Linked DNA regions of Homo sapiens: regions 2, 3, 4, 5 and 6 are each linked to region 1. Evidence: promoter capture Hi-C in 16 types of primary human blood cells and fetal thymus (Javierre and others, 2016). All regions are on one chromosome and are shown on one strand. Each heading gives the region's core, a stretch centred on a gene start or on the middle of the fragment in contact. The rest is flanking DNA. Distances are from core to core; before and after follow the strand shown. Region 1 holds the start of POMGNT2 (protein O-linked mannose N-acetylglucosaminyltransferase 2 (beta 1,4-)). Region 2 holds the start of NKTR (natural killer cell triggering receptor). Region 3 overlaps ANO10 (anoctamin 10). Region 4 overlaps ANO10 (anoctamin 10). Region 5 overlaps ANO10 (anoctamin 10). Region 6 overlaps ANO10 (anoctamin 10).

The links. Contacts are between HindIII fragments. The CHiCAGO score rates a contact against its expected background, and 5 or more counts as called.
Region 2: a contact is called between the fragment with the promoter of NKTR here and the fragment with the promoter of POMGNT2 in region 1, in 7 of 17 cell types (non-activated CD4 T cells, total CD4 T cells, activated CD4 T cells and 4 more). The highest score is 9.7, in non-activated CD4 T cells.
Region 3: a contact is called between a fragment that was not itself captured here and the fragment with the promoter of POMGNT2 in region 1, in 1 of 17 cell types (total CD8 T cells). The highest score is 5.9, in total CD8 T cells.
Region 4: a fragment that was not itself captured here is called in contact with the fragment with the promoter of POMGNT2 in region 1 in 3 of 17 cell types (total CD8 T cells, total CD4 T cells and non-activated CD4 T cells); the score reaches 6.9 in total CD8 T cells.
Region 5: a contact is called between a fragment that was not itself captured here and the fragment with the promoter of POMGNT2 in region 1, in 4 of 17 cell types (activated CD4 T cells, non-activated CD4 T cells, naive CD4 T cells and 1 more). The highest score is 5.7, in activated CD4 T cells.
Region 6: a fragment that was not itself captured here is called in contact with the fragment with the promoter of POMGNT2 in region 1 in 2 of 17 cell types (fetal thymus and non-activated CD4 T cells); the score reaches 6.2 in fetal thymus.

The regions. Positions count from the first base shown.
Region 1 is chr3:43,104,534-43,107,617 of GRCh38, forward strand. POMGNT2 (protein O-linked mannose N-acetylglucosaminyltransferase 2 (beta 1,4-)) reads right to left here and starts at 1,546. Exons shown (of 2, transcript NM_032806.6): 1 at 1,303-1,546. RefSeq lists a silencer at 1,314-1,633. The HindIII fragment of the contact is 5,763 bases long and covers 1-3,084 here.
Region 2 is chr3:42,599,182-42,602,265 of GRCh38, forward strand. NKTR (natural killer cell triggering receptor) reads left to right here and starts at 1,505. Exons shown (of 17, transcript NM_005385.4): 1 at 1,505-1,597; 2 at 1,803-1,883. The coding sequence starts at 1,826. It also overlaps a transcript of SEC22C not described here. RefSeq lists a silencer at 1,599-1,808. The HindIII fragment of the contact is 13,164 bases long and covers 1-3,084 here.
Region 3 is chr3:43,535,504-43,538,587 of GRCh38, forward strand. The region is part of intron 11 of ANO10 (anoctamin 10); the gene reads right to left. Among named protein-coding and RNA genes, the nearest start is that of ANO10, 85 kb to the right of the region's middle. RefSeq lists an enhancer at 643-1,577. The HindIII fragment of the contact is 834 bases long and covers 1,125-1,958 here.
Region 4 is chr3:43,516,916-43,519,999 of GRCh38, forward strand. The region is part of intron 11 of ANO10 (anoctamin 10); the gene reads right to left. Among named protein-coding and RNA genes, the nearest start is that of ANO10, 100 kb to the right of the region's middle. The HindIII fragment of the contact is 2,558 bases long and covers 160-2,717 here.
Region 5 is chr3:43,498,075-43,501,158 of GRCh38, forward strand. All of the region lies in intron 11 of ANO10 (anoctamin 10), which reads right to left. Among named protein-coding and RNA genes, the nearest start is that of ANO10, 120 kb to the right of the region's middle. The HindIII fragment of the contact is 1,748 bases long and covers 524-2,271 here.
Region 6 is chr3:43,393,635-43,396,718 of GRCh38, forward strand. All of the region lies in intron 12 of ANO10 (anoctamin 10), which reads right to left. Among named protein-coding and RNA genes, the nearest start is that of SNRK-AS1, 43 kb to the left of the region's middle. The HindIII fragment of the contact is 825 bases long and covers 1,201-2,025 here.

The sequences.
Region 1 (3,084 bases), core at 296-2,795:
GCCCAAGGCTCAGGAAGGAACGTGCTGACCACCCCTGGGGATGAGGGGACCTATGCTCTTTCCTAGCTCTGCAGGGACTGAGATTCCTCAAAATTAATATTGAAAGGATGAGCTGGAAGATCTGCAAGATTCATGAGAGCCAGAGAGGGCAGCTAGTACCATTAAAGATGAACCTGGACTCCAAGCACCTCTAACACTTTCTGTCGTTAGTCACCACGACTGCTGATATTTGCCACACACTTACTGTTAGACATACTGGGCTGAGGACTTGCCTGGCACTATTTCATCCCCACTGCAACCCCGTGATAAAGGCACTGTACTTTCATCTCCACTTCACAGAGAAAGAAACAGAGGCTAAGAGAGGATAAGTGACTTGCTTAAACGCACACCGCTAGTAGCCGAGAACCAAGATTTGAAGGCGGGGCACATATTGTAGTAAACATTTGGTGAATGAAACCTCCTCTGTCTATGCTCTTAGCTACTAAGTCCTATCAAGCTCGCCCCATAACCCTGAAGTCATCCTTTTCCACGCGGAGCCTTGCTTCTCCCAAGAGTACGCTCTAAGTGTTGGCTGGCAATAAAGTAGGCAGACACTGGTCGCCCTGCACCTGGTGCAAGACTCTGGCCTGACGGTCACATACTTTAGCAGAGAGTTCCCATCAGTGAGCTGGAGACGGGTTCCTAAACACACACATGGAGTCAGGAGTTCACTGGGTTCCTTCTTCAGAGGCTACTCTGGCACTGCCAAGCAGGCCGTGGCAAGCTCTTACCACCGGACACACATGGTAGGTGCCCTACTGGCCCCCAAAGCGCCCAGGAATCAGCTGCAGGCCTGCCGGGGTTCTGCCTTCAAAGGCAGTTGGGGAGGCCCAGGCCCGCTCCGCGCACCTCGCGTGGCTCCCCACCACCCCCGCCAAATGTGCACCACCCATCACCTCCCAAAGCAAAAGGGCCTGAGGACCCGACGCCAGTGCCTGCCACGAGCTGAGGGCTCGAACTGGCAAGCCCCAGGGCGTTGCCCAGGTCCCCGGCCCCCGGCCCCCGACCCCCAATCCCCGGCCCCCGACCCTGAGGGTCCACCCCCGCCCCGCCCACCTCCCGCGCCTCCCTCAGCTCGCTTCACACGTCACCCCTCAGTTCTGCAAACTCTCCTGGATCCCGAAGGCGTCCTAGAACCTCCCCCTCACCCCGGGGCCCAGCACCGCGTCGTCCCCTCCAGGGGGCCGAGGGTTCGACACCTCCACTTCAAGTCCCAGGCGGGTGTCGGAGTCCGCTCCAGCCCCAAGCGCGCGCGCGTCTTACCTGAAGCCTGGACTCCGCGGGACGAAGCCACCTCCGCCGACGCGTCCAGGAGGCCCCACGGCGGCGCCGCTTTCCCACCCCGCCGCCGCCCCCAGCGCCAGCTTCTGGCCCAGGAGGCCCAGAAGGCCCAGGCAGCCAGCACAGGTTTGGCCGCGCCGCCGGGTTCGCAGCGACCGCCACCTCCAGGCTCGCAGGTGTCCGCCGTGCGCCTGCCCGGCGGGCGAGCCCGGCGCGGAGCCTGTGCGCCTGCGCAGAGCCGCGAGTTCGGTTGCCCTGGCCCCGGCCACAACCTTGGCTCGCGGAATCCTGGGAGGTGTAGTTTTGCGTACGAGGACAGCCCGCGCCGCCACCAGCCTGCGGAATGTTGGGAGTGATAATTTGCGCCGAGAGGCTGAGTTTTACTTAGTGTTAGGATTACACAGTTATGGCAGTTCTGATAATAAATTTAAATGCAAGTTTAACCAACAACCAAATGTCATTGTAAAGTCAAGGTAATTAATACGTTTACATGCTTTTAAAAATTGTAATGCTACAGAGAACTTACAAAAGCACCAGTCCTCTGCGGCACCATTCCATTAACCAGCTGTCACCTTATCCCACCGTCCAGTCCTGGCTGTCCAGTCCTCAAGGGCAGCTACTTATGGCTGTGGCATCTGGCATTCCCGCGGATTCTCCGAATATACATATGCCCCTATTTCTTGAGTTATGAATTTTAGATCTTTTGACTTCTTTTTTAGATCTCTTGACTTTTTTTGAACTTAAGTCATCTAGAGATGCACCTACCACCACCAACTCCACCTCCATAGAGTTATAAGATTTCTACCTATCAAATTGGGAAAGCCCTGACTTTAATTTATGATTATTTTAAATTAGCCCAAATGTTAAGGTATTAAGTTGGTAAATTTTTGCAGGGCAATTTGTCAATACAGCCAAAAACCTTTAAAAACATGTAGTCAAAAGCCTCTAACCAAGAAATTCTAATAATTGTGGATGACTGCAAAGGCTGAATAGTGTTGTTTAGATGATAATAAACTGAAAGGCTGAAGTGGTGATATTACTTTCAGAGAGAGTAGAATTGACAGCAAGGAAAATTACCAAGAATAAAAAAGGGATAATTATATAATGATAAAAGGTTCAATTCACCAAGAAGACATAATTCTAAATGTGGATACACCTAACGACATAGCCTTAACATAAATAAATCAAATGATAGAACCATAATTAGAAATAGACAACTCTGCAACTGTAATTGGAAACTTCAGCATCCCTCTCTCAACAACTGATAGAACACTAGACAGAAAGTCAGCAAGGATATAGAAAAGATCAACACTAATACCATCCTAATCTAATTGATATTTACATAATACTTCACCCACCAACAGAATACACATTCTTTTCAAGCAACCTTGGTATATATATTAAGATAAACTGTATCCTGGATCATAAGTTTTTAAATATACAGAAGACATTAATATATATTTTACCAAAGTAGTTATACAGATGGCAAATAAGGACAGATGTTCATCACTAGCCATAAAGGAAATGCAAATTAAGACTATGCTGAGATATCACCATACACCTATTTAAAACAGCTTAAAAAGGCAGGGCGCGGTGGCTCATGCCTGTAATGCCAGCACTTTGGGAGGCCATGGCTGGCGAATCACGAGGTCAGGAGTTCAAGACCAGCCTGGCCAACATGGTGAAACCTCGTCTCTACTAAAAATACAAAAATTAGCTGGATGTGTTGGTGCGCGTCTGTAAACCCGGCTACTCAGGAGGCTG
Region 2 (3,084 bases), core at 255-2,754, 510 kb before region 1:
GTCTCGATCTCCTGACCTCGTGATCCGCCTGCCTCGGCCTCCCAAAGTGCTGGGATTACAGGCATGAGCCACCACGCCCGCCCATGTAATGTGTATTTTATAGTTTAAAAAAAAAACTTATAAAATAGTGTGGTACTCAGACACAGATCATTGGAACAAAAATCCAGAAACAGACCCACACATATATGGTCACAAGGCGAAGGTAATTCAATGTATAAGAGTCTTTTCAGGCCGGGCGCGGTGGCTCACGCCTGTAATCCCAGCACTTTGGGAGGCCGAGGCGGGCGGATCACGAGGTCAGGAGATCGAGACCATCCCGGCTAAAACGGTGAAACCCCGTCTCTACTAAAAATACAAAAAATTAGCCGGGCGTAGTGGCGGGCGCCTGTAGTCCCAGCTACTTGGGAGGCTGAGGCAGGAGAATGGCGTGAACCCGGGAGGCGGAGCTTGCAGTGAGCCGAGATCCCGCCACTGCACTCCAGCCTGGGCGACAGAGCGAGACTCCGTCTCAAAAAAAAAAAAAAGAGTCTTTTCAACAAACGGTAATGGAACGACTGTATATCCCAATAGGAAAATGTTGACACTTACTTGACAACATAAGCAAAAATTAATGATATTAGATCATATCATAGACTTACACGTTAAAGACTATGTAAAACATATATGAGAACACAGAATATCTTCAAGAACTTGAGGTAGGCAGAGATTTCCTAGCACAGGAAAAGCACAAACCATTAAAATATAAAACTGACCAATTGACTTAATCAGAATTAAAAACTTCTTTGCCAAAAACGTCAAAACAATGAAACGACAGGCCCAGATTGGGAAAAAGACTTCGCAATCATTTATGTAACAAAAGATTTTCATTCAGAGCATACATATATCTAACAAAACATTTGTATCCAGAACTGTTAAACACGAAGGACCAGATTTAAAAACGGGCAGAAGACTGGAACTGAAACTTCACAAAAGATGCAGAATGGTCAGTAAGCACAGGACAAAAACGGTGCCAGTGACGCTGGTGCCAAAGCGGGAAGGAACGCATTCTTCAGCCTAAAAGACCTAACAGTAGGACACGGACATAACCACTCCCGGCCAAAAAGAACACAGAGCAACACAACGTCTTGGCTAACGAAAACTCAAAGCCTCAATTCACTCAGTTCCTTCACAGCGCTCGGAAACAGAGAAGTCTCGCGGTATCGGAAAATGCGCGGCGCTCACAGCCACACCTGACGAGATGGAGGGCGCAGGCGCATCCACGGCTTTCAGATTGGGCGACTGACTTCAAAGGGGGGGGCAAACAGGGAACGCGCAGGTATAGGAGCGCTGGCTGGAGGCTCCTCGAGAGCTCCCCAGACACGCCCCCGTGCGTACGCCCCCGTGCGTACGCCCCCGCTGCCGCCACCTTCGGTTGACCACCCCCATCTAGACTGTACTCTCGCGGTATTTGTCCCGACTCTCGCGGGGTTTAGCGTGGCATTGGGAGGCCCGGCCTGGGGGAGGAGACGGCGTTCCGTTAGCGGCGTTGGGGTTTGGCTGCAGTGGCAGTGCTTTCTCTTCTGCTCACGGGGACCCGCTCAGGCTGGAGGCCAGCCAGGTGAAGAGCTCGCCCGCATGCGTGCGCGCTGCGTGGGAGCCGCGAGGCCCGGGGCGGGAGGGGGCCTCGTCTTGGCCTCCTGCGCTGTCGCGACGGGCCGGCGTGAGGCACCGTGGCGCGGACTTCGTCTCAGCCCCGCCCTCGCCCCTGCCCTCGCCCCCGCCCTCGCCCCTGCCCTGACCGCTTTTCTCCCCCTCTCTCCCAGCTCTTGCCGCCACCTCGGTCGCGATGGGGGCGCAGGACCGGCCGCAGTGCCACTTCGACATCGAGATCAACCGGGAGCCGGGTGAGCTGGAAACTGGGGAGCGCTGCTGGGGCCGAGGCCTGCCTTGGCGAAGGGGAGGGGTCTACCCTCAGCAACCCTCCCCCGGCCTTTTTGGGAGCGGGTAGGAGGCGCAGGCAACTTTCCGTTTTCTCTTGAGAGAAAATCAGTGGGAGAGGAAGGTGGCCTGGGCACACCCCTAACTCGCAGTCCGGGCCTCTTCCTGCCAAACCCCACACACCCCGCTGCATCTCCGGACTGAGTCCTCGTAGCCAGCCTGGCGCCAAGAAAAGGAGGTGCAGTTCTTTGAGGACTTTTTCTCTCCCAGTGTCTCCGTGAGGCAGACACTCCCGATCCGATTTCCGGTTATCTTGCTTGGTGCTATGAAGTTTCAACTAGTAGGAAATATTGTGTGTTTCCTAATCACGATATATCACTAATATGTTAATTTTGCCTCTATTTTTCCTTAAGAATCTTTAGCTAGAATTTCGTGGTTCCTGGGAAAATGGCTTAGTGAAGATCTTTTGTGATAAACCAGAGCATTTTGTACCAGCAGAATTGCAGCATGCATGCACTTAGCATTAATGTTTGTCTTTAGGGAATCCAGACATTTGTTAGTGTATTTTTTTTAAATGAAACATTTCCTTCTAAAGCATAGTTATTTCATTCTAAGTAGCAGAGCGTGCAGGGTTTCAAACTGTTTTCTTAGCTTTTTTTGTTATCCGTGACAAAAGTTTTAATTGGAGACATATATATATGTGTTGTCTTTGTGCAACATCTTGTTCTGCATATTCTTATGAGAGCCTGCTACTGTTCTAGGGTCTGGAGATAGAGCAGCGCATAAAACAAAGGCCTCTTCCTTTTATAGTTTATATTCTATTGGGGGGAAGACGGACAACTAGGAAAAAAATAACAGTGACTTGTAGTTGGGATACTATTTTAATAAGTTGGTCAGACAAGGCCATTTTGAGAAGATGAGATTTAAGCAGGTATCAGAAGGAGATGAAGTGAGCCGTATTTAAGAAGAGCATTCGTGGTAGAGGGAAACAGCACAGCCCTGAGGTGAGGAGTAGTATACAGTCAGGCGCCAAATGACATTTCTATCTTTAACAATGGTCTTATATATAATACCTTTTTTTGGTAACTTTTTAATGTTTAGCTGTGTTTAGATATACAAATACTTCATTGTGTTAAAGTTGCCTACGGTATTCAGTGGAGTAACATC
Region 3 (3,084 bases), core at 292-2,791, 430 kb after region 1:
GACCTCGTGATCCACCTGCTTTGGCCTCCCAAAGTGCTGGGATTACAGACATGAGCCACAGCGCCTGGCCTCCTAGACATTCTTAAGGAAGGAAGCAGGATGTTGATTTATATTTTAGTATGAGCTCCTTATTTTACTGTGAACTACTAACAGTTCTCAGACCAGCACAGTGTGGGCCACAGTTAGAGTAGCACTGTGAGTATAAATGACAGTAAATTTTAGTAACACAGTGACAAAGACAACCAGGAGAAAAATCCTGAAAATCCAAATTCCATTAATCTCAGCTACTGTGTAAACTAGTAACTATGATATCAGTTGATAAAGGCTTTAAAGATTAAGTCTCTTTAAGTCTTCCCAAAGACTTTAAAGATTATAAAACTCTCCTGAAGAGGAATGAATAAGCAGGACTTGGCACCCTAGTTTTGAAAGTCTGTTGTCCCTCATTTTAAAGCATAAAAACTATAAGATAAGTACTGACAAATGTTTGTTATCCAATTGACAAATTAACTTTCACTTGGACCATAATCACATACTTATTAGTCTTTTGTATTTTAAAAACGCTTCTTCAGCTTAAACTCTTAAAAAGTTTCTTGGCTTAGGATACTTTGTAGATTATTTAAACATTCCTGATAAAAGTAAAACACAAAAGTAAATGTAACATTCCAAGTTGTTTAAAATGCTTCTTTCAATTTGAAATTATTTCTTTAAAAAGTACCAAATACAAACTTTATATTTATTAATGATTCCACTGATATCAACTGTGATCCCTCACTCATTAGAGCACTAGAATTCTCAATCACTCCCAGTGTGCCACTTCCTATTGCCCTTCTGCAAATCCTGATGATTCTAGAAGCACATGAATACCCTGTGCCCTCAAAACGGTTAGCAGCAGTAGCATATTACTTTCTACATAGTCATTTGCATTTATGGACATGACCTACATTTTGAAAGAGTGTTAAAACATAAAACAATAGATCATTTTTGTTCTTAAGTTTGATCAGTGAATTCTCAAATGTATGAGAATGATGCCTCACCTCATTAATTTCCTCTCATCAGCAAAACAATACTCAAGATGAGCAGCTCCTTTAATGGTAAAATGGAGTTCTGGGGCTCAAAGAAAGAAAAGCTTAAAAGCCCTCTTCTTTTGTTCCTTTCAGCAATATGCCTAAAAATTCAATTATAAAATCTTATTTGGTGTTTGAAAGGAGCCATTTACTATATAAAATCAAATTTTAGATTAACTGGTTTTCGGTTGCCTTGTTCTTAATTTTGAAAAAGAAAAAAAATCTACTTTTTTCATCTTGTAAACATGTCCTAAGCCACAAAAGATTTTCTAAAGCATTTTTTCAACAAGTTTTTATACATTTTAAAATTTACCTTTTAACTTAAATAGAAAATCACTCATCTTGGTGTATAGCACTTTCAGTTTTAATAAATGCACCCAGCTGTGAAACCATCACCATAATCAAGATACAGAACAATTTCATCACTCAAAAAAAAAAAAAAAAAAAAAGCCCTCACCTTTCACCTTACTCTGAGTCCTTGGCAACCATCCTCGGTTAAGTTTTAATGTCCAAACGTAGACTAGATGTATATTACAGCAATCTCCGGGACAAATTTAATAGCAAAGAGAAGACAATGCCAAGAGCTCTACCTGTCATCTTGCTCATATGTCCTTCCTACACACTCAGTGGGTAAGAGGCTTATAGGCTGTGGAAGAATATCATTGGTCTATCAGAGAGCTCCTCTTTCCTTGGGTTTCCTTTTCCAGCATAAAAGAATATCAACAAACTGTATTCTTTCTACTCATATCCCACCTCCTTTTTGCTGTGAAATATTCCCTCAACCTGAGTTCCTTGTGCACCAGTGACCACATCACAGGCTTAATTATTAGCACAGATGGTGCCAATTAGTTCTGTGTGAAGTGCTGAAATGGAAAGGATAATAGAAGCATTACAAGCTTCCTAAAAATGGTCACAGCTGGGGCCCAATGATGACAGCTTGGGGGCAACCATATCTTTACATTCTGCAGCTCACCTTCCACCTCCTGCTCCATCCACCAGAGCAGAACCATGATCTCAGGCTCAGAGCAGGCATACTTTATAAACCACACACACACACACACACACACACACACACACACACACACGTAACTAATATACGTCAGATAGGAAGAAATTTTCTTAGAAAGTAACCAATATTCAAAAACCTTTCTTTTCTGTTCATTGTTCTTAATATCCTTAGAAATAGTCGATTTCAGTAACATAACATAATGGGACTGGGAACACATTTTATTAGTTAGGAGGAAATTATAGTAGTAGTATTAACATCTTACATCTGTAAGCACCCTGGAGTCCACAAACCACCGTCACATAGTTTCTAATTTAATCCAGTCTTAGCCACATGGCACCCTGGAGGACTACAAAAGAAACTAAAGACCCTCTGAAGCTTTTAAGCTACAGACTAAAAAGGGTGGGGGGACAGAAGTAACAAGACATAAGAACAAATACAACATATCAAAATAACTAGAAACATTAAGATCTGGTCAAATTTATACCATTTCACCAAACCCAAAATACATAAATGTCTATGATACTAAAAAATGATAGTTAGACCTGGCCCTATTTTTGATATAAAATTTCAGTATAAAAAAAACAGCTAAGTGTTTCTAAAAGTGAAATTTGACGTAGCATACTAACACAGCATTTTGAGTTTGGGGTATTGTTAATGTGGGAAACCATTCCTAAAGAAATGGGTTATTGAACAGGGTCTACACATTGACAAATATGAATTTAAGAACAGCATTTTAACTGAGGAAAAAAAATAAGAAAAGAGGTATCAAAAACTGTACTGAAATGATCTTGCTTGTGAGTCCAGCTCTTCCAAAAGAAGGGTGAATTTATTTTCTTTGTATCTCCAGCACTGACTAGAAATTCAGAAAAAATTTTTAAAACGGAAATAAAACAAGTTATGTGAAAATACAGAAGGATACCTTAAAGAACAGGTTTTTTTAACAACAATTACTATGGCAGCTTTGTAATTCTGGCAGAAGAAAAAAACTGTAACGATGGCAGGCATAAAGAA
Region 4 (3,084 bases), core at 189-2,688, 410 kb after region 1:
TGAATGGCTGAGATAGTGGTATTTATGGAATGGCCATGGGGACATGTCTTCAGGAAGCCAGAAGGCCAGGGCCAGCAGGGAGATGCATAGATTTATGAGTCGGCTGCACAGGCAGGAGAGCTATGCTATAAGAACAGCTACCATGCTGTAATTACATCAAGCTTAAGCCCAGGCCTCTGTAGGAATTAACTAATCAGTACATTTTTTTCAGTATCCAATCAAGTTTTTATAATCTAATCTCTTGTAAACATTCAATGTTTTACACAAAACAATTTTATTGAATGTCAAGATTATATGAATTTGATAAATATTCAAACATTTGTAACCTAAAGCAAATTTTTTCTAGTTTTTATATTAGTAATATCCAGTTGTGTTTAGCTTAATTATACCTACAGTGCTGCTTGAACTATCTGAGGTGAAGGACCAATTTTTAAATTCCCAGTCCATTATGGTCCTACTGTCCTATGGACTGAATGCCCCCTTGCCCTCAACAAATTCATGTTAAAGCTGTAACCCCCAATGTGGCTGTATTTGGAGACAGGGCCTACAAGAAGGTAATTAAAGTTGAAAGGGGTCATAAGGGTGGGGCCATGATATGATAGGACTATCATCCTTACATGAAGAGATACCAGTGAGCTCACATACTCATTCTCTTTGAGTACACACAAAGAATTGGTCATGTTAGGATATAGCAAGATGGTGGCCATCTAAAAGCTAGGAAAAAAGGTCTCAGAATGGAACCTACCCTGTTGGCACCTTGCTTGGATTTTTGTTCTTTAAGCTACCCAGTCTGTGTTATTGTGCAAACTAATGCATACTACGTGTGACCAAAATGAGCTTGCATCTCATGCAGATCATCATACAAATTGAGCACTACCCTAATTGGTTTACCTTGGTTAACAGGATAAGCCCACTGATTGTGTGCTTAAATACTGCAGCAGCATCAAACTGCCTTAGGAGTTTGTAAACACCTTCCATTTCTGTGCTTATCTGATTGTGGGCTGGTAAAAAATACTTTGTGGACTAACACCAGTCTGCAGATCACACTTTGTCCAGCACCAGTTTACAGTCTTTCTGTGATTGTTTTGTGAAAAAATGCAACATTTAGCTTAAGCACATAACTCAAAGGCAGGAATTTTAAACACACGTATGCTGCAGAGTGAGGGGAATAATACAGAAGCTCAGTCCTATCCTATCTGGGCAAGTGTTGTGGGAAGTCAGGAACCCTGAACGGAGGGACCTGCTGAAGCTGTGACAGAAGAACATAAATTGTGAAGATTTCATGGACATTTATTAGTTACCCAAATTAATACTTTTATAATTTCTTACACCTGTCTTTACTACAATCTCTGAACATAAATTGTGGAGATTTCATGGACATTTATCACTCCCCCAATCAACACTCTTATAATTTCCTATGCCTGTCTTTAATCTCTTAATCCCATCATCTTCGTAAATTGAGGATGTATGTCGCCTCAGGATCCTGTGATGATTGCGTTATCTGCACAAATTGTTTGTAGAGCATGTGTGTTTGAACAATATGAAATCTGGGCATCCAAAAGGAACAGGATGGCTGCGATTTTCAGGGAACAAGGGAGATAACCATGGGGCCTGACTGCCTGAGGGGCTGGACAGAACAGTCATATTTCTCTTCTTACAAAAGCAAATAGGAGAAATATCACTGAATTCTTTCTCTCAGCAAGGAACAGCCCTGAGAAAGAGAATGCTTTCCTAGGGGGAGGTCTCTAAAATGGCCGCTCTAGGAATGTCTGTCTTATATGTCGATAAGGGATGAAATAAGCCCCGGTCTCCTGTAGTGCCCCCAGGCCTATTAGGATTAGGAAATTCCTGCCTAGTAAATTTTAGTCAGACCGGTTGTCTGCTCTCAAACCCTGTCTCCTGATAAGATGCTATCAATGATAATGCGTGTCCAGTGGGACATGAAACTTCATCAGCAATTCTAATTTCGCCCTGGTCCTGTGATCTCGCTCTGCCCCCATTTGCCTTGTGATATTTTATTGCCCTTGAAGCATGTGATCTCTCTGACCCACACCCTATTCGTACACCCCTCCCCTTTTGAAATCCATAATAAAAACTTGCTGGTTTTGCGGCTCAGGGGGCATCATGGAACCTGCTGACATGTGATGTCTCCCCCGGACACCCAGCTTTAAAATTTCTCTCTTTTGTACTCTTTTCCTTTATTTCTCAGACCAGCCAACACTTAGGGAAAATAGAAAAGAACCTACGTTGAAATATCAGGGGCTGGTTCCCCCAGTAGGCAAGATCCCTCAAGACATTGCAGAAAGCAGTTTCTTAAAAATTAACAGCATTGTGCCTTATTTATAACATCCCCTGTATTCTGTTTCCCTTTAGCTCTTCCATCAGTCTCTGTAATCATATCCACAGAGCACATTACATACAATTAGATTACAAACTCACCGCTGGAGCACACTACTTCTTTTTCAATTGAGAATATATATCAATTCACAAAACAGATGCCCTCAAGATACTCTAACTAAGATGGACAAGCAAATTTATTCTTGTGATCCTGCCACTGAGGGGAGAATCCTCTGGTTGCAATGGGGCACCGTCCAACTTTCTGATGTCCATTCCAGAGGATCTTTGATGGAATCTAATTCATACATTTGGTTTCATTTGGAGCCATTACTTGTTTGCTTGTTTGTCCTCCTATAAGGTAGTGTTCACTCATTTTCAAAAGCTTCATCCAACTAGCCTCTACATCAAGTATGAGAACCATGCTTATCCCTTCACTCATATGAGGGCAGACCAGAGATCAGGAGAGATCATCATGGTCTCGGGCCAGGATCATGCTGATACACAGGTAGGTTACAAGATCACGGGGCATATTTTTTGCAAGCAAGATTGCTGTGAAGTTAACTTTGTTGGCTGAACTTTACATTTTTCTTATGTCCAAGGAAAAGAAGTGTTATTTGTCTTGTTTCTTTTCAGTTCTTGTAACTGTAGGGCTTAATGAGGGAGAGCTAATACAGGACAGAATTTCAGAATGTAGAGGTCCACAGGAATAACCAATGGCAACCTCCTTGTAGCAGAGATGGCTATCTA
Region 5 (3,084 bases), core at 148-2,647, 390 kb after region 1:
TATTTTAAAAGGATGTAAGTAGCATCAAATTTTCTGTTCATGTATTTCTTTAAAAAGTATGAATCACTGAAGCCTTGTTCTGCACTACAAAGTGTGTATGTGCAGCAGGATAAGACTTGATGCTTGGTTTGGCCACTGACTGGCTGTTGGCAGGTACAGCAAGGAGACAGTGGGAGTTTTCCTGCCCACTTCTTGGGAAGCCACTGGCTGTTCTGACCTTGGATATTTCTAATGCCTCCCCAGAAGATGGGTGGTACTCAGCGGGCAAGCCAACTGCCCTCCACCCCTGCAAAATCCAGCTGATTGAGGGAAGAACTGTGTAGTAGGGCAGATGTGACCTAACCTGGGAGGACAATCCCTGATGGCAGTGTTACCTACCAATTGTGTCAATAGGAGAGACCTGCCCCCAGCATGTCCTAGAAAGTAACAGAAACTCTGATGGGATGGCATATGGAGGGAAGAGTAGGGAATAAACACCACCTCCCGTGGCTTTCAAAGCCTGCCTAAAAGATCCCAAGTCCAAAGCTTAGCACAGAGGAAACCCAGCCATTCCCTTCCCTCTACTTTGTAGTCTGGACTATGCAGCTTACTATAGCTGAGATTTACTGATGCTGTCCTTTGTTTTTCAAAAAATATAATCCTCCCTCTTATTCTTGCGCATCCCCAGGGAGAAGCAAAGAGCAGTCAAAATATGAATGGGACTGTCCTTTTCAGCAGGTAGGGTAAGAGGGGAATAAAAATCAGAAAAATAAGATATAACATTTCTTGTACTCAGTGCTATAAAATAATTTAATCCTTGCTATATGCATATAAGGTAAACACACATATATGATCGTTCATTGTCAAATGGTTCTGCAATGCGACAGTCTTGAGGCTGTGGTGCTTGGGCACTGGGGGTAAGTCCCCAGACCCGACTACCTGAGGTGGTGGTGAGTACTGAGGAAGAAGCTAAAAATCACACCAAAACCTGGGGATTACATTGAGCCTTCTCCACCACAGTTCCAGGGCTCATGTAGAGAAACCACTAGAGAGAGGGGCAGTTTGTCCCTGTTTGTCCTTGTTTTTCACGTGTCTTCAAATTTCTAACAATGGCACAGGCAAATGCAGAGTGAAAATAAACTCGGCAAGTATTTATCAAACGATACTTGTGATAGGGTACAGAGACCCTATCACAAAGAGTTTACAATCTTTTACAGTTGAGGAACCCAGTCATGAAACAAATATAAAACATTTCCACAGCCATGTACAGTCAAGTGTATAGTTCAAATGATATACCTCCATAGAAGTACACTGAATGCTCTAGATGGGGAAGTATTTACTAGGGAGGGTTTGGCAGAGGAAGTCTGTCTTAGATTGAGCATCAAAGGAAGTATAGGAAGTAGGCTGACAGGAGGAGCATTGAGCAGGGGAAGAGGGCATTTGCAAGGCACAGAAGCCAGGATCAGCAGCAGTACAAAAACTGGGTGCTAGAGAGGAAGTTCAGAAATGCAGGCAAACCACACTTCCCACTATTATTCTTTCAACAATCTAGGATACCAAAAACTGTAAGACACCGTAAGACACACCATTCTCCCATATACCACCAAGAAAAAAAAATACTGCCAATTAAATAATTAAAGAAAGTGTTCTTATTACCTAGAATTCTAATTTGAAGGGCTCTTTTTAAAACTTCTTTAGATAGATTTTTTTTTAATAATCACTCCTGTGCTACCTACAAAATATAAGCAAAATATAGGCTTGTTAATGTACTACTAGATTTTTTTTTTTTTTTGAGACAGAGTCTCACTCACTCTATCGCCCATGCTGGAGTGCAGTGGCGTGACCTCGGCTCACTGCAACCTCCGCCTCCTGGGTTCAAGCGATTCTCCTGTCTCAGCCTCCTGAGTAGCTGGGACTACAGGTGCATGCCACCACACCTAGCTGTTTTTTTGTTTTTTGTTTTTGGTATTTTTAGTAGAGACAGGGTTTCGTCATGTTGGCCGGGCTGCTCTTGAACTCCTGACCACAGGTGATCCACCTGCCCGGCCTCCCAAAGTGCTGGGATTAGAGGCGTGAGCCACTGCGCCCAGCCCCATGTACTACTAGATCTTTTAAACATTCAGAGTCCAAGACTTCTAAATCAAGTTTTATCTCAGAGTTGACAATGCACAAATTTTCCAATACAAAATCCTCTTATGTGGCCTCAGCAGTGTGGGTGATGCAGCAGTCCTTAAAACAGTGCTTCACCACTCTATCCAGGATTTCCTTCCAAGCAGCTGGCATCCATTTGCAAGCTTCCATGCTGGTGCTTTTTCTGATCTTATCAAAAGGGGTCAATGAAAGGTTTATAGCCCCACCCAGAATTCATTTTCTATACTGACTGAAACCATGAGGAGTTGCTGTTGCCAAATCACACTACCAGAAATGGCCCAGTGTTGACATTCAAATTTGTCCACATGTTGACGATGGCAGCTCCCTGATATCCACTGTAAAATACATTCAATTTCAGAGGTACTAAAATGTGGGAGAAGTTAACCTTAGGCTCAGTGAAATGTGGTGGTATGATCTCTTAAGCTTCTGTCCTAAGCTATAACTCTGCAGGTATTAAAAGTAAAACCAGTCTTGAATGTAATTGACTGAAATCACGATTTGCCTTTTCAACCCTGAGTGACACTTTAGTGCACAAACACAACCATTACAGAAATTATCCTAATAAATATCTTACTTTATCAGTGTATATACTCTGAATTGGGTTGGCATAATCTTAGAAGGTTTAGAAAGACTCCATAAGCTTTGACATCTACATGACTTCCTATAGCTCAACCTAGAATGGTGATCAACAACAACAACAACAAAAACGGAAGGCAGACCATCTTATAACACAGGTATGTAAGAGGGCTGGGGAGGGCGCTGTACGTACAGTTGAATCAACTCAAATCTCTCAGTGAAGAAATTAGTTGTATTCTGAAACAGAAGATGCCATCGTCCATTAGTATAGCTATGAAGAAATACCTGAGGCTGGGTAATCTATAAAGAAAAGAGGTTTATTTGTCTCATGATTTTTCAGGCTGTACAAGAAGCATGGCACCAGCATCTCCATCTGGT
Region 6 (3,084 bases), core at 363-2,862, 290 kb after region 1:
CCACACTGGTCTCCATGTCTCCTGCATTTACCATGGGCACATATTTTCATTTCTTTTTTATTCTTTTCCCAGTTTTCAACATTGCCTTTTGTAACTCTGGGATGTTACAAAAGGTGATGTTGGGAAGCAAGCAAGCAAAACCCTCCTGTTACCTACACCATGAAGGTTCCCCTTTCCAATCTCCTCCTCCAATGCTCAGAGACTTTGGTCTCTCTCTCTACCCCTAACCCCTCCATTTCCAGATCTTGGCCTTTTCCAGAGCAAGACAATGGCACCTCAAGACCCCCTCTACCTGCTGCCCAGCCCCTAATTTTTCTGCCCTATACATAAGCCTAGGAACTGAGCTAGGAGAGAATGAACACCCCTGGGGGTGGGAAAAGGCTGTGAACACTCACAGGGTATCATAACTTTTTTTTTCTGTCACTTCATTTGCATGAGAATTGGGGGAAGTTTAGGGTGGCTGGTAGGCCTGATAAGTGTTGGTAGATATGCTTTCACATCTTGGAAATCCGTGCTAATGAGACAACATCCTTCCTGTTTGGCCTCCCTGGAAGAGGGGCCTTAGACGTTGTCCCCCTCTGGTCCCTACCCCCAGGCATCACCACCTCTCATGGTCAGCAGCACATTTCCTGTGACCTGCCTATGATCTCTTCTTCTTGTACTAAGGCCTGGCAGGCAGCCACCCCTTGAAAAGTCCAGCTCTATCCTCTATGGGAAAACCTTCCTGTCATAAATATACCACCAGTAGCTCTGCATTTTTCTTTTTCCCTTGTGTCAAATTCTCCCACCCTCACCTCTTGACCCTAAGCCTCTTCAGGATATTTGTTTTCCTGGCTCCCTTCCTGAATTTTTTCCATCCTGCACAGGAATGTTTAATCTCCTCTAAAGAGTTAGAGCCTAGATCTTCTCTTCCAGTAAGAAGATGTAGAATTTATAGGAAACAGTGAAAACGACAACAACAACGCCCTTACACTTGCATTTAGTTTTCCCATTTTACAGAATCATTTCCCATGGTAGTGAAGAAACCTAAGCAGCCTATCTTGGCACAACTGAAAAACGCAACAGTGGTTAAGAGAAGGCCACCTTGAGCTGCCCCGGGTGGAGGGGTGGGGGTGCACTTTGAAGCCCTGATCTCTAATTCTCACAGTGTTCCCATTTACAGATGTAGTAACTGACATGGGCAAGGTCCTACCACTAATAAGCTTAGGTCTTAGGGTAAAAATCTAGGAGTGCTGCTTGGCTCCAAACCACTTTTCTTCCCAATTGCCTAAATTTCCATATCTTCTGGTATTCAAGAGAGGTCCACTCTTATGTGGCTTTTCGTAAAAAGTTTTCTTATTTTAGGAAACTATGATTTTGCTGGACTCTTTTGCTGCTTGGCTTTTTCTCCTAGTGAAGAAAGGGTACAAGGTAAGGGGGACTGAGGTGAGAGGGAAGAGGGTGGGTAGCTGAATTCTCTAATACAGTTCATCTCCAGCCCAGAGATGGTAATAATCAATGTTATTATCAGGTAATTATCAGGGTAATTATCAGTTTTTTAACAATCAGAGGACCCTAGGAAAGTTTTCTAGCAGATTCTCCTGCTTTTCTTTTAGCTTTCTCATTATATAGATGACAAGATTTGGAAGGGCAGAAGTTTTAAATTTTGATGAAGTGTCATTTATCGATTTGTGGATCATACGTTTATGGATCATACTTTAGGAATTGTAGCTGAGAAATCTTTGCCTAATGTAAGGTCTCAAATATTTTAATGTAAGATCTCAAATATTTTATCTTTTTTTCTGGAAGATTTAGAATTTTAGATTTTACATCTACGTCTATAATCCATTTTGGTATGATGTATGGGTCCATGTTCATTTTTTTGCACATGAATATCCAATTGTTCCAGAACCGTTTATTGAAAAGACTATTCTCTACTGCATGGTCTTTGCACTTTTGTCAAAAATCAGTAGTACATACATGTGTGAGGTTATCACCGAACTCTATTCTGCTCCGTTAATCTACACTATTCCCCCCTGTATAATAAGCTTTGAAATCAAGTAGTCTTCCAATTGTGTTCTTCTTTTTAAAAGCTTTGGCTATTCTAGGTCCTTTGCATTTCCATATGAATTTTAGAAGCAAGTTCATCAACTTCTACAAAAAAAAAAAAGCCTACTTAGATTCTTATTGGGATTATACTGAATCTATAGAACAGGGGTTGGCAAAATATTATTAAAAGGCTGGACGTAAATATTTGAGGCTTTTGGGCCATATAGTCTCTGTCACAATGACTCAACTTTCCCACTGGGGTGCAAAAGCAGCCACAGACAACCTGCAAATGACGACTTCTAGTTTCTGCAGATCCATCAGATTTTCTGTGCAGATGATCATGTCATTTGTGAGTAGACAGTTTTTTACTTCTTCCTTTCTATTCTGAATGCCTTTTATTAATTTATTTATTTATTTTTTTTTTTTGCTTGATGGCGCTGGCCAGAACATTCGGCATAATGTTGAAAAGAAGTGGTAGGAATAGACACCCTTTTATTGTTCCTTATACCAAGGGGAAAGCATTCAGTCTTTCATCACTAAGTATGACACCAGTTTTAGACTTTTCATAGATGCCCTTCATCAGGTTGAGGAAATTCCCAATTGCTGGATGATGTCCCATAGTTCACTAAAGCTCTTTTCATTTTTACAATTATTTTTTCTTTCTTCGCTTCACGTTTGATAAGGTTTTTTTTTTGAGATGGAGTCTCGCTCTGTCGCCCAGGCTGGAGTGCAGTGGCGCAATCTTGGCTCACTGCAACCTCCGCCTCCCAAGTTCATGCCATTCTCCTGCCTCAGCCTCCCAAGTAGCTGGGACTACAGGCGCCTGCCACCACACCCGGCTAATTTTTTGTATTTTTAGTAGAGACGGGGTTTCACCATGTTAGCCAGATGGTCTCGATCTCCTGACCTCGTGATCCACCCGCCTCAGCCTCCCAAAGTGCTGGGATTACAGGTATGAGCCACCGCACCCGGCCCATGTTTGATAAGTTTTATTGTTTTTTCTTTTTTTTCCCCCAGAGACAGGGCCTTGCTCTGTCGTCCAAGCTGGAATACAGG